Linked DNA regions of Homo sapiens: all the other regions are linked to region 5. Evidence: promoter capture Hi-C in human tissues and cell types (Jung and others, 2019). All regions are on one chromosome and are shown on one strand. Each heading gives the region's core, a stretch centred on a gene start or on the middle of the fragment in contact. The rest is flanking DNA. Distances are from core to core; before and after follow the strand shown.

Region 1 (2,700 bases), core at 149-2,648, 1.6 Mb after region 5:
GGACTGGCCAGTTGGAAATGAAAGGAAAATGGGGCACCTTAAAAACATAGTCACAGATAGCTGTGAGAGGTAGCACAGGGAGGCCATAGGGAGAGAATCCAGGCCCTGACTTGACTTGAATCCTGAACAACTTTCTGATTTTAATCTACATGTATCCTTAAATCATCTTTTTATTTATTTATTTATTTTATTATGTTTTTTTTGGAGACAGAGTCTCACTCTGTCACCCAGGCTTGAGTGCAGTGGTGCTATCTTGGCTCACTGCAACCTCCACCTCCCAGGTTCAAGTAATTTTTGTGCCTCAGCTTCCCAAGTAATTGGGACTACAGGCAGGCACCACGATGCCCGGCTAAGTTTTTTTGTATTTTTTATAGAGATGGGGTTTCGTCATGTTGCCAGGATGGTCTCCAACTCCTGAGCTCAGGCAATCCGCCTGCCTTGGCCTACCAAAATGCTAGGATTACAGGCATGAGCCACCGTGCCTGGCCTAAATCCTCTTTTTAAAAAAGATGCCCTGTTCCTTGCATTCAGAAGATACTAACAGTAAAACTGTGAGCCAGGGAGAATCCCCAACCTTATTTCGATCCCCACTTCCAACCGATTGATGGTGGCTGCCTGGAGAACTGTGTCAAAAATGACTCTGGGGCTAGAGTTTACTGGAAAAGAGTATGTACTGTTGAGAGACAGGACTAGCTGGATTTCCTAGGCCGACTAAGAATCCCTAGGCCTAGTTAGGAAGGTGACCGCATCCACCTTTAAACATGGGGCTTGCAACTTAGCTCACACCCGACCAATCAGGTAGTAAAGAGAGCTCACTAAAATGCCAATCAGACAAAAACAGGAGGTAAAGAACTAACCAATCATCTATTGCCTGAGAGCACAGTGGGAGGGACAATGATCAGGATATAAAGCCAGGCATTCCAGCCGGCAACGGCTACCCTCTTTGGCTCCCCTCCCTTTGTATGGGAGCTGTGTTTTCACTCTATTAAATCTTGTAACTGCATACTCTTCTGGTCCGTGTTTGTACCGTGTTTGTTACCGCTCAAGCTAAGCTTTCGCTCGTTGTCCACCACTGCTGTTTGCCGCAGTCGCAGACCCGCCGCTGACTTCCACCCCTCCGGATCTGGCAGGGTGTCTGCTGTGCTCCTGATCCAGCGAGGCGCCCACTGCTGCTCCCGATCGGGCTGAAGGCTTGCCGTTGTTCCTGCACGGCAAGTGCCTGGGTTCGTCCTAATTGAGATGAACACTAGTCGCTGGGTTCTACGGTTCTCTTCCATGACCCACGTCTTCCAATAGAGCTATAACATTCACCGCATGGCCCAAGATTCCATTCCTTGGAATCCGTGGGGCCAAGAACCCCAGGTCAGAGAACGAGAGGCTTGCTGCCATCTTGGAAGCAACCCGCCACCATGTTGGGAGCTCTGGGAGCAAGGACCCCCGGTAACATTGTGATGTCTGCCATGTTGTTTTCTAGGGAGATGGAAGGGAGTCAAGGATGTTGCCATGTATGTGCCATCTCTGCCCTAAGCCAATATCATGAAGAAATCAACAAGAGGTGGAATAAACTGAGCAATTCATCACCATATTAAGCTGGATATTCCTGTTTAGTAAATATCTTTCCCTAGCTGGTAAGTATCTCACCCCATACTGTATCTCAGCCACAACACTTTTAATTACCAGAGTCTCTAGGGCAGCGGTCCCCAGTCTTTTTGGCACCAGGGACTGGTTTCCTGGAAGACAGTTTTTCCATGGGAAGTGGGGGTGGGGATGGTTTCAGGATGAAACTGTTCTACCTGAGATCATCAGGCATTAAATTCTCATAAGGAGCGTTCAACCTAGGTCCCTAGCATGCGCCGTTCACAATAGGATTTGTGCTTCTATGAGAATCTGATGCCACCACTGTTCTGACAGGAGGAGGAATGTAGACGGTAATGCTTGCTTGCCTGCCATTTATCTCCTATTATGCGGCCCAGTTATTTTTTTATTTTATTTTATTTTTTTGAGACGGAGTCTCACTCTGTCACCCAGGCTGGAGTGCAGTGGCGCAATCTTGGCTTCTTGGCTCACTGTAAGCTCCACCTCCCGAGTTCAAGTGATTCTCCTGCCTCAGCCTCCCGAGTAGCTGGGATTACAGGCATGCGGTCTGGCTAATTTTTGTATTTTTAGTAGAGACGGGGTTTCATCATGTTGGCCAGGCTGGTCGAGAACTCCTGACCTCAAGTGATCCACCCACCTCAGCCTCCCAAAGTGTTGCGATTACAGGCATAAGCCACCGCGCCCGACCTGGCCTGCGGCCCAGTTCTTAACAAGACACTGGCCAGTACCAGTCCATGGCCCAGGGGTTGGGGACCCCCTACTCTAGAGTATACAGAGGTAAAACACACCTTACAAACCAGATATCACTGCATACGCCAGATTGTTTATAGCCTCCCCAGAAAAGAAAATTGCTCCTGTTGCAGAATAGCCTTATGAGGCTACACTACATGGGGAAAGCAATTCTTTTCTCCCAGGAAAAGCATGTAAGGATTAAGATTATATTGGCTGAGGCCAGGAGTAGTGGCTCATGCCTGTAATCCCAGCAGTTTGGGAGGCCGAGGCAGGTGGATCACCTGAGGTCAGGACTTTGAGACCAGCCTGGTCAACACGGTGAAATCCCGTCTCTACTAAAAATACAAAAATTAGGCTGGGTGCGGTGGCTCA
Region 2 (2,700 bases), core at 84-2,583, 1.2 Mb before region 5:
TGAGAACTAGGCTCCAGAGGGACCCCCATAGGTTGGGAGATGGGGGTGGGGGCATTGTGGAGGTTGTGGAGGGAGACTGGGGAGAGGGCAGGATGCCATAATTTTCTTTTTTTTTTTTCTGAGATGGAGTCTTGCTCTGTCACCCAGGCTGGAGTACAGTGATGCAATCTCAGCTCACTGCAACCTCTGCCTCCCGGGTTCAAGCAATTCTCCTGCCTCAGCCTCCTGAGTAGCTGGGATTACAGGCACGTGCCACCACACCCAGCTACTTTTGGTATTTTTAGTAGAGACGGGGTTTCACCATATTGGCCAGGCTGGTCTCGATCTCCTGACCTCATGATCTGCCCGCCTCGGCCTCCCTAAGTGCTGGGATTACAGGCGTGAGCCACCGTGCCTGGCCATAACTATCCTCTTCATCCAAACCGTTGGTCATCAAGTGGAACTGGGGCTCAGTCTGAGTGCTTCCTTGCCCCTCCAGACAGGGCCCAACCTTGGCCTCTTCAGTCCTGGGGAGACCCAAGCCCTGACCTGTGGAAGTTTCCAATCTGGGAGAATAGAGGAGAGCTGGGTCCTGCTTTTGAGCTCCCAGGCCAGGGAACAGAGGAGATTTAGGCTTGAGCTGAGGTTGACCAGAATGCTCATACTCCCTCTCTCCCTGCACAACCCCACTCTCCATATCCTTCACCCTGCTCCTCTGGGCTGCTGATAAAAGCTGCATTCAAAAGCCTTGGGCAGGCCGGGCACAGTGGCTCATGCCTGTAATCCCAGCACTTTGGGAAGCTGAGGTGTGTGGATCACCTGAGGTCAGGAGTTCCAAGACCGGCCTAGGCAACATGGTGAAACCGCCCCCCACCCTGTCTCTACAAAACTACAAAAATTAGCCAGGCATGATGGCGAGTGTCTGTAATCCCAGCTACTTGGGAGACTGAGACAGGGGAATCGCTTGAACCTGGGAGGCGGAGGTTACAGTGAGCCGAGATCGGGCCACTGCACTCCAGCCTGGGCGTCTCAAATAAAAAAAAAAATAATAATAATAAATAAATAAAAGGCTTGGGAAGAAGGAGAAGGGGTTAGGCTGGCAAGTGGCCCAAAACAGGTGAGGCTCCTGGCTTTTCCCTACTCCCCTGCCCCACTGGAGAGGTCTGCAGCTCAGGCGTTTCTAGTCCTTTCTTCCTCCACACTCCACCCCTTGGCCCCAGGAAAGCCAAGTTCAAGCAGGTGGCTTGCCTGGAGCCAGGACACCTAGATTCTCAGTAGCTGTACCCCACAAGTTCCTGTGTGACCCTAGACAAGTTCCTACACATCTTGGCCTGATATAAACCAGAAAATTATACTCCCCATTCATTTCTGAAGTAGAAGAGGAAGTCTCCCTCTGGTTTGAAACACCCTTCTTCTTGGTCCTCCTTGGTTCCCTGGGGCAGTGTGAGATGCCTCCTCCTTCTCCCTCTCAGGGGTAGATGAGCAGATTGGCCTTTCCTGTGAAGGGTACGGGTGACTCACGTGCCCCAGGCTTCCCCTCGCCCTTATCACTCACCTGGATTAATCTGTGACTCATAAAGCAAGTACCGGATGTTGGGGGGGTTACATGTAAACTTGGGGGAGGGGGGCTGGCTAGCCTAAATCTGACTTAATAGGTCAGGGACTGAGCAGCCCTGAGGATTTCATTGATATAACATGCCATATGGACCCCTTAGGCTTGGGGTTCTTGCTTTCCTCCCCCAAAGTATGGAGCTGGGCAGAGGAAAATAGGGTCTTCAGCTAACAGGATTCGGGGGTAGAGGAGGTTGTCAGATGCCATAGCCAGAAAGGAGGGCCCTTGTTGAGTTCACCAAATGAGGCTTAGGTCAGTCAGAACACGGGAAACTCTGTATCCTAGCACTTTGGGAGGCCAAGATGGGAGGATCACTTGAGCCCAGGAATTTGAGACCAGCCTGGGCAACATAGTGAGACCCCCAGTCTCTTTAAAAAAAAAACAAAACAAAAAAAACTGGGAAAAGTGAAACCCCAAGAAGAAAGCTTCATTTAAAGCCAGGGGAAGAAATCCAGGGTCCCTGCCTCTGACTTGAGAGCTTTTTCTAACCTGCCCTCTAAAAAACAGGGCAGAGTTCCCCTTTTGCAGCAAACCAGAGCTGGAGGTGAATACCGACAGACAGACAGACTAGTGCATACAGAGGCGTGCACGTGCACCACACACAGAACAGACAAATCATGCCATACTTAAGATCCACTCTGTCTCTGTCCACCTGTGAAGTTAAAGGCAGAGACCCACCAAGGCAGGCACATCCATGAGGGTGCTTAACCATTATCCTGTGTACACTTGCTCACACATAAGGCTTCCTGCTAGGCTTTTCCCCTTCCCTTCCCCTGGGGTTCTGGTTCCTGACTGCCCATCTCCACCCTCCCCTCCCCTGGCCCCTCAGCTAAAGCCTGAGCACCTCCCTACTCTGGAGCTGGGGCCTCTGTGGCTAGACAAGAGTCATCCTGGGCTGGGGCAAAGGAGCCTAGGGCAGTCATCTTGAACACTAGTTTGCTCACCTGTTTTCCAGAGAAAACCTGAGGAAAACAGGTTGGAGCTGTAACTGTGAGGGACTGAAATTAGGGCCAGGCACAGTGGTTCACGCCTGTAATTCCAACACTTTGGGAAGCTGAGGTGGGTGGATCACCTGAGGTCAGGAGTTCGGGACCAGCCTGGCCAACATG
Region 3 (2,700 bases), core at 1-2,500, 1.5 Mb before region 5:
TGGCGTGATTTCAGCTCACTGCAACCTCCGCCTCCCAGGCTCAAGCAAGCCTTGTGCCTCAGCCTCCTGAGTAGCTGGAACTACAAATGCGCCACCACGCCAGGCTAATTTTTTGTATTTTTTATAGAGATGGCGTTTCACCATGTTATGTTGGCTAGGATGGTTTCAAACTTCTGACCTCAAGCAATTTGCCCGCCTCAGCCTCCTAAAGTGCTGGGATTACAGACATGAGCTACTACGCCCGGCCAGATAGTTTTAATTTAAAATGGTAAAATAGTAACTATAATGGAGTAATGCCAAATGCCACTACAATGAAATCCTCAAGGTTCACACTGCCAATAAGGAACAAACTGACAGTGTGTGTCTCTAGATCTCGTTACACTGAGAAGAACTCAGCATCATTTCAGTGGTATTCCTGTCAAAAGTGAATAACCTGAATCTGATCAGGAGGAAACATCAGACAGACCTAAACTGAGAGACCTTCTACAAAATAACTGGCCTGTACTCTTCAACAATGTCACTGTCATGAAATCCAAAGGGCTTGGGAATTATTTCAGATTACAAGACACTAAGAGACATGACAACTGAATACAACACATGGTTTTCTTCTACCATCAAGGCTATTATTGGGGCACCTGACAAAGTCTTCCTAAGGCCTGTAGATGACATAGCAGAAATGTTTCAATGTTGATGTCCTGATTGTTAATTATACTATGTTTATATATATATTTTTAAATCACCTTGTTGTTAGGAAATATACACTGAATATTTAAGGGTAAAAGGAGATATATATAGATATAGATATAGATATATACACACACACATATATATGAGAGAGAGAGATCTAGATACATCTATCTAAAATTATATTAATATCTATCTATCTACAGGTAGATACACACACACACACACACACACACACACACACAGAGCGAGAGAGAGAGAGAGAGAGAAGGAAAAAGTAAATATAGTAAAATGTTAACATTTAGGGACTCCAAAGGATATCCAGGAATTCTTTGTATTAGTCTAACAACTTTTCTGTAAGTCTGAAGTTATGTCAAACTTTTTAAAAATAAAAAAAAAAAACAGAACTGGATGAAAAACATATAATCAAAATGAGCTATAAAATGCCATTTACATATGTTTAAAAAAATGTATATATACTGTGTGACTCCATTTATGTGACATCCTCAAAAAGACAAAACAATAGTAATGAAGAATAGATCAGTGGTTGCCTGGGATTAAGGGTGGGAGGAGAATGTGACTACAAGAGGGATTTTTTTGGGGTGATGGAACTGTTCTGTATCCTGATTGTGGTGGTAGATACACAAAAATATGTATGTGTTAAAATTTATAGACTATATGCCAAAAAGCCAATTTTATTGTAGGTTAATCTAAAAAAATTTTTTTTAAAGTTAAGAATACATCTATGTATAAAGCAGTGGCTTCCATTTTGGCAAGAGCAAAAACAGATACACAAACTATAAATACGTTAGAATAGTTGCCTGTGATATACCTGGGAAATAGAAGTGGGAATGAGGACAAAATAAAACAAATACATGAGGCAAGAGAGTCCATGAGTAGACCCCAATGATGATTATTGGCCATGAAAGGAAGCTTGATGGCTGGATGGAAAGAAGGAAGGAAGGAAGGAAATAAGTAAGGGAGAGATGGCGGATGGAGCTGGATGTGTCCTTCCAGGGCTGTACAAAGGAGGGGGACCCCAACCCCTAGTCCAGACAAAGGTCCCTAAGGCAGGTGTACAGTATTGTGGGGATGAATTCATCAGCCACGAGAGACTGACCCATCTAATGTTAAATTCACTTCCCTGCTCTGACTGCTGACTCACCAGCAGTTAGCTTATCCTGCGGCTTCCCTTGCAGTGAATTCAGCCAGAGATTTCTAAGCTACTCAATAACAGTTCTAATCTTCCCAGTAAAGCTGCAACTTTGCATTCCAGTATGTAAGTAAGTCTCCTGGGAGTTTTATTACTGAGTCAGCTGCCCCTCTAATCAGTTTTGGAGCCCCAGCAGATTTTCTGGAGCTGCGGTGCTGACTACGAGCACATCCTTCTCTCTCCACCTAGAACCAGACCTTGGACTGTGGAGGGCCCACTACTCCTATGGGCCATCTGGGCACTCAGCCAGCCAAGTACTCCTGGCAATATCTCTCTGGTGTCAGGACTACTTTAAATGTAGCCAGCTCCAATTTCCTTCTCTAAGGAGTGGGGATAATTATGCCTTCCTTTCAGATGTAAGTGAAATAATACATATACATACTTATCGCATGTTCTTATTGAGCTAATAGATGTTCAATAAATGTTACTTTCCCTTCTCCCCTGACTCCTTAGAACTTCAGAGCTTACAAATTACTACAGCTCTATCAGCACACATGGCTAAATTTTCACATTTCTACTCTTAGCCACTAGAATCACTGATAGATTTGGAGGAAAACTCTGGGACCTTAAAGGGTCCCTGGAGTATTACATAAAGCTTCTTGCAGCATGAGAGTTGAACAGAAATTCTGTTCATCTTTTGCTGTCGAAGCCAAGTTGGTGGCTTCTAAAGAACCAACTTAGAAGAAAACTCAGGAGAAAAATTTTATCATTTTGGGATGGTGAAGACCTGCTTAAGTATGAAAGCAACCTGAAGTCATAAAGGAAAACATAGATTTAAACACATAAAAATTCAAAACTTCTGG
Region 4 (2,700 bases), core at 196-2,695, 1.0 Mb after region 5:
TCACCCAGGCTGTAGTGCAGAGACACAATCACGGCTTGGCTCACTGCAGCCTTGACCTTCTGGGCTCAAGTGCTCTCTCCGCCTCAGTCTCCTCCAGTAGCTGGGACTACACATGTGCACCATCATACCCGGCCCTTTTTTTTTTTTTTTTAAATAGAGATGGTGTGCCACTATGTTGCCTAGGTTGGTCTCAAACTCCTAGGCTCAAGCTACCCTCCTGCCTCAGCCTCCCAAAGTGCTGGAATTACAGGCCTGAGCCACTGTGCCTGGCCGATAATTGGCAGTTTCTTAAGGGGCAGTTGCAATGTAGAATGTGAAACCATATCAGTGACCTTTTTGTACTGTTAAACTAAAATCCGTTGTTTTGGCCAAGTGTGGTGGCTCACGCCTGTAATCCCAGCACTTTGTGACGCCAAGGTGGGTGGATCACCTGAGGTCAGGAGTTCGAGACCAGCCTGGCCAACATGGTGAAACCCTCCCGTCTCTACTAAAACTACAAAAATTAGTCAGGTGTGGTGGTGGCACACGCCTGTAATCCCAGCCACTCGGGAGGCTGAGGCAGGGGAATCACTTGAACCTGCGAGGCGAAGGTTGCAGTTAGCCGAGATTGCACCACTGCACTCCAGCTTGGGTGACAGAGCAAGACTCTGTCTCAAAAAAAAAAAAAAAATCCGTTTTTCTGAACTGCACCTGATTGGATCTTTTACCCATGCATAATTTTGTAACACCGTGCATTCGTCATATGGAAAATAATTGATTCACTGAGCTATGCAAATCTTCCAAATATTAATGTTTCATTATACATTATTTTAAAAATCACAATAGGTTTCAGGCCAGGTGCGGTGGCTCATACCTGTAATCCCAGCACTTTGGGAGGCCGAGGTGGGTGGATTGCCTGAGCTCAGGAGTTCGAGACCAGCCTGGGCAACATGGCAAAACCCTGTCTCTACTAAAAATACAAAAAGTTAGCTGGGTGTGGTGGCGGGCGCCTGTAGTCCCAGCTACTCAGGAGGCTGAGGCAGGAGAATTGCTTGAACCTGGGAGGTGGAAGTTGCAGTGAGCTGAGATTGCACCACTGCATTCCAGCCTGGGGAACAGAGCGAGACTCTGTCTCAAAAATAAATAAATAAATAAATAAATAAATTTTAAAAAAATCACAATAGGTTTCAACAGTAAAGTCTTTGTTTTTCTTCATAGTATTATACTGGAGAACAGTAAAGTCTTTAAGTTTTAAATTTTGGGAAGCTGTGAAGCTCATGTAGCAAATACAAGTGTTCCAAAATTCGATTTTTCACTTGAAAGCTTGAATTATATCATTGGCAACAAACACTGTCAGATTTTTCCCTGAAGTGACAGACTCACTTTGTTCCTTTTTAGAAAAGTTCTGCCAGCTACCTAAATCTGATAACCACAGTTTGTCGGCCATTCTTTTGAGTAAACGTGGCATTCCATAAAAGAGCAGCTAGTTCAGCTCACAACTCAAAGAATGGCCTAAGTTATTTCCTCCAGAAAACCATCATACTTTGGTATGCAAAATGTCTTATGCATACTTCCCACTTTATCAGACAGAATGTTGAAAAGCCTTTTCCTTAAGGATTAAGGTTTAATTAAATTAATACATTTAGGCTGGGCGTGGTGGCTCACGCCTGTAATCCCAGCACTTTGGGAGCCTGAGGCAGGCAGATCATGAGGTCAGGAGTTCAAGACCAGTCTGGCCAACATGGTGAAACCCTGTCTCTACTAAAAATACAAAAATTAGCTGGGCATGATGGCATGTGCCTGTAATCCCAGCTTCTCGGGAGGCTGAGGCAGGAGAATTGCTTGAACCGGGACACAGGAGGTGGAGGTTGCAGTGAGCCGAGATCACGCCACTACACTCCAGCCTGGGCTACAGACCGAGACTCCGTCTCAAAAAAAAAAAAAAATTTTTTTTTTTTACTTCATCAAGGACATTTTTTTTGAGTCTTGCTCTGTTGCCCAGGCTGGAGTGCAGTGGCGTGATCTTGGCTCACTGCAACCTCCGCATCACAGGTTCAAGCAATTCTGGTGCCTCAGCCTCCCAAGTAGCTGGGAATTACAGGTGTGCACCACCATCCCCAGCTAAGGAAAATAATGTCTTGGTATTTTTATGAAAATAATTTTGACCTATGGACCCCTGAAAAGGTCTTAGGGAACCCTAGGGGTCTGAGGACCACATTTGAAGAGCTGCTGGTTTAATAGGTTTTAAAGCCTCTCCCCAGATGGCTCCCAAGGTATCACTAGTGAGAAGTATGTGATTGGTCCCAGTTCCTGAGGACATGACAAGGAAATGGTAACAGGAGTAAGCAGCTGTCCTGGGCTCCTAGCTGGAGTTCAAAGTCTAGACTGCCACTTGTCGGGGAGGTTATAGAAGGGATTTGATCTCCAAGGTCCTCAACTGATACTATGACATTGAATCTGGGATTAGGGAGCCCCCACAGTATGTACTGGAGTTGCCAGTCCTCTGCGTCAGAGAAGTGATAATACATCTCAATTTTCCAGTGCTTAGCACAAGCATGGCTTAGTAAATATTGAATGAATGAATCACAGGTGATAGGAGTGATGGTAGGAGGTTGGCACCATCCCTAATGGGCTGTCCTAGAGTTCCATCTACTTTCTTAGAGAAGGGCTCTCACTCCGTCACCCAGGCTGGTGCACAGTGGCACCATCATAGCTCACTGC
Region 5 (2,700 bases), core at 201-2,700:
CTTTAAAAGTACTGGGGGCCAGCTGTTTGGGAGGCTGAGGCAGGAGGATCACTTGAAGTCAGGAGTTCAAGACCAGCCTGGCCAACATGTGAAACCCCGTCTCTACTAAAAATACATAAATTAGCCCAGTGTGGTGGCACACAGCTCTAATTCCAGCTACTTGGAGGCTGAGGCAGGAGAATCGCTTGAACCTGGGAGGTGGAGGTTGCAGTGAGCCAAGATCACGCCACTGCACTCCAGCCTGGGTGGCAGAGTGAGACTCTCTCTCAAACAAACAAACAAACAAAAGTACCAGGGGAGGAATTAATTTGAATTTTATCCTAGTGTTAGCCAATTGGTCCCATCCAAGGAAAATTTAGAAAAGGGAAGGGGATGTGTAAAGGAAACACTAGGCCCCACCTAGATGGTGGCTGGAGCTTCTGATAGTCCTGTACTCTCCACATTTTTAGACTTTCTTGTACTTTTTTTTTTTTTTTTGTGACGGAGTCTGCTCTGTCGCCAGGCTAGAGTGCATGGGCACAATCTCGGCTCACTGCAACCTCTGCCTCCTGGGTTCAAGTGATTCTCCTGCCTCAGCCTCCCGAGTAGGTGGGACTACAGGTGCACGCCACCAAGACCAGCTAATTTTTTTTTTTTTTTTTTTTACTAGAGACGGGGTTTCACCATGTTGGCCAGGATGGTCTCAATTTCTTGACCTTGTGATCCGCCTGCCTTGGTCTCCCAAAGTGTTGGGATTACAGGCGTGAGCCACCGAGCCCGGCCATTTTTAGATTTTTTTTTATAGCCCTTTTACCCCTCCCACTTCTTGTGCTGTCTTGGTGTGTGTATGAAAAAGAGAGAGAGAGAGAGAGGAAGGAGAGCAAGAGTGAGAGAAAAAGAGAATATGGTTACTTAGCCCTTTTTCCCAAATCTGTTTTTGCTTTTGGGGATAGGATATGGTTATGGTGAAGTACTCCACACAGACCCCACCAAGTTTGCCTCTCCTGCGCTACAGCCACTGAGCAGGTGACTGAGGCGCTGTTGATCCAGGGTCATATCCTTACTCGCCCTAGAATGTAAGCTCAGGCAGGGCAGAGGCCATGCCTGACATGTGCATCCCAATGCTTTACACAGCCTAGGTGCCTAGCACATGCTAGATGCTTGGTAAATATTTGCTGAATGAAAGATCAAATGAATGATTGCAGCAAGCAAGTCCTGTAGGCATCCTGGAGCCCAAGGATTCTGCAGTAGGCAGCTTTCACAGAGGTTCTTCCAGTGTAGTGGCTCTAGCTCTGGGTGAAGTAGGATCATCAATGTCGGCCCCCAGGGTTCACAGCTGTTCTGAGCCCCGCCCCCAGGTGGCAGGGCAGCCCAGTCAGTCAGTCACGTGCTGGCGGCTGGCCAATCATCGGGGGCGGCGCGGGGAGGGGTGGTGTGGACGGAGAAAGTGAAAGGTGAGGCACGGCCCTGCAGATTTTCCAGCGGATCCCCCGGTGGCCTCATGTCGCGCAGTGGAACCGATCCTCAGCAACGCCAGCAGGCGTCAGAGGCGGACGCCGCAGCAGCAACCTTCCGGGCAAACGGTAACTGCACCGCGGCAGGGACTCGCTGGGGCGCGGAGCCGAGCCCTCCCCTTCCTTAGGAAGCTTTCGTCCCCTCCGAAGGTTGGAACGCTCATCCCGAGCCAGACCGACAAGGCGTACAGTCTGCAGGCCTGTACGAGCAGCAGGCCAATTGGCGCTGGGAAAGTCCAATCCTGGGCCTCTAGCTCCTGAGCGGGACAGGGCCGAGAGGGCGCTCCCGAGCTTGGGCCTGCTGGTGGGTGAGACCCAGGAGAGAGGGAGCTAGAGAGCTCTGAGGACTGATCTTGACTGTCTGCCCCCAGACCATCAGCATATCCGCTACAACCCGCTGCAGGATGAGTGGGTGCTGGTGTCAGCTCACCGCATGAAGCGGCCCTGGCAGGGTCAAGTGGAGCCCCAGCTTCTGAAGACAGTGCCCCGCCATGACCCTCTCAACCCTCTGTGTCCTGGGGCCATCCGAGCCAACGGAGAGGTAAGCCTGTAGAGCCCTGCATCTGCAGGCTGGGCCACGGGGAGTAGTTCCCTCTTAGAACTGTCCTCCACCCACAGGGATAGTGAACCTCCTTCTGGGTCATATCCCACCAAGCTTTTTGGTCCCCTAGGGTGGGCCTTCCCTACTCCCTTGTAGCCTGTCCAGTCTTTGAAGCCCACCAGGTAACTGGTGGTATGGGGCAGTGAGTGCTTCTAGCCTATCCTTGTCGGTAGGTGAATCCCCAGTACGATAGCACCTTCCTGTTTGACAACGACTTCCCAGCTCTGCAGCCTGATGCCCCCAGTCCAGGTAACCTGGCTCCAACTGCTGCTGGGGAGGAGGGTGGCTAGACCTCTTGAGGGACTTCTGCTGCAGAGAGTGATACTCCTTTACCTCAGGACCCAGTGATCATCCCCTTTTCCAAGCAAAGTCTGCTCGAGGAGTCTGGTAACTATGGATTTCCCCTCTTACAACTTTCAAACCAGAGTTGGAGACTCAGCATTGGGGTTCGGCCCTGCCCGTAGCACAGCCAAGCCCTACCTCTCGGTTATCTTTTCTCCCGTCACCACCCAGTAAGGTCATGTGCTTCCACCCCTGGTCGGATGTAACGCTGCCACTCATGTCGGTCCCTGAGATCCGGGCTGTTGTTGATGCATGGGCCTCAGT

What was found. The method cuts DNA at HindIII sites, captures the fragments that hold promoters and counts their contacts. A contact is called where the count stands out against the background at its distance.
Region 1: a fragment that was not itself captured here is called in contact with the fragment with the promoter of GALT in region 5 in 1 of the 25 tissues and cell types used here (pancreas).
Region 2: a fragment that was not itself captured here is called in contact with the fragment with the promoter of GALT in region 5 in 1 of the 25 tissues and cell types used here (heart right ventricle).
Region 3: a fragment that was not itself captured here is called in contact with the fragment with the promoter of GALT in region 5 in 1 of the 25 tissues and cell types used here (small bowel).
Region 4: a contact is called between a fragment that was not itself captured here and the fragment with the promoter of GALT in region 5, in 1 of the 25 tissues and cell types used here (dorsolateral prefrontal cortex).

What each region holds. Positions count from the first base shown.
Region 1 is chr9:36,263,947-36,266,646 of GRCh38, forward strand. It overlaps LOC124902150 (a long non-coding RNA gene), which reads left to right. Exons shown (of 3, transcript XR_007061473.1): 2 at 1,475-1,628. It also overlaps a transcript of GNE not described here. Among named protein-coding and RNA genes, the nearest start is that of GNE, 6.8 kb to the left of the region's middle. The HindIII fragment of the contact is 4,032 bases long and covers 1-2,700 here.
Region 2 is chr9:33,457,186-33,459,885 of GRCh38, forward strand. No RefSeq gene overlaps it. Among named protein-coding and RNA genes, the nearest start is that of MIR6851, 9.4 kb to the right of the region's middle. RefSeq lists enhancers at 969-2,168, 1,413-1,572. The HindIII fragment of the contact is 5,989 bases long and covers 1-2,700 here.
Region 3 is chr9:33,149,338-33,152,037 of GRCh38, forward strand. The region is part of intron 1 of B4GALT1 (beta-1,4-galactosyltransferase 1); the gene reads right to left. Among named protein-coding and RNA genes, the nearest start is that of B4GALT1-AS1, 16 kb to the right of the region's middle. The HindIII fragment of the contact is 4,121 bases long and covers 1-2,700 here.
Region 4 is chr9:35,693,655-35,696,354 of GRCh38, forward strand. No RefSeq gene overlaps it. Among named protein-coding and RNA genes, the nearest start is that of TPM2, 5.1 kb to the left of the region's middle. The HindIII fragment of the contact is 3,222 bases long and covers 1-2,700 here.
Region 5 is chr9:34,645,225-34,647,924 of GRCh38, forward strand. It overlaps GALT (galactose-1-phosphate uridylyltransferase), which reads left to right and starts at 1,451. Exons shown (of 11, transcript NM_000155.4): 1 at 1,451-1,562; 2 at 1,865-2,034; 3 at 2,268-2,343; 4 at 2,433-2,481; 5 at 2,608-2,700. The coding sequence starts at 1,481. RefSeq lists enhancers at 1,196-1,305, 1,876-2,055. The HindIII fragment of the contact is 1,689 bases long and covers 198-1,886 here.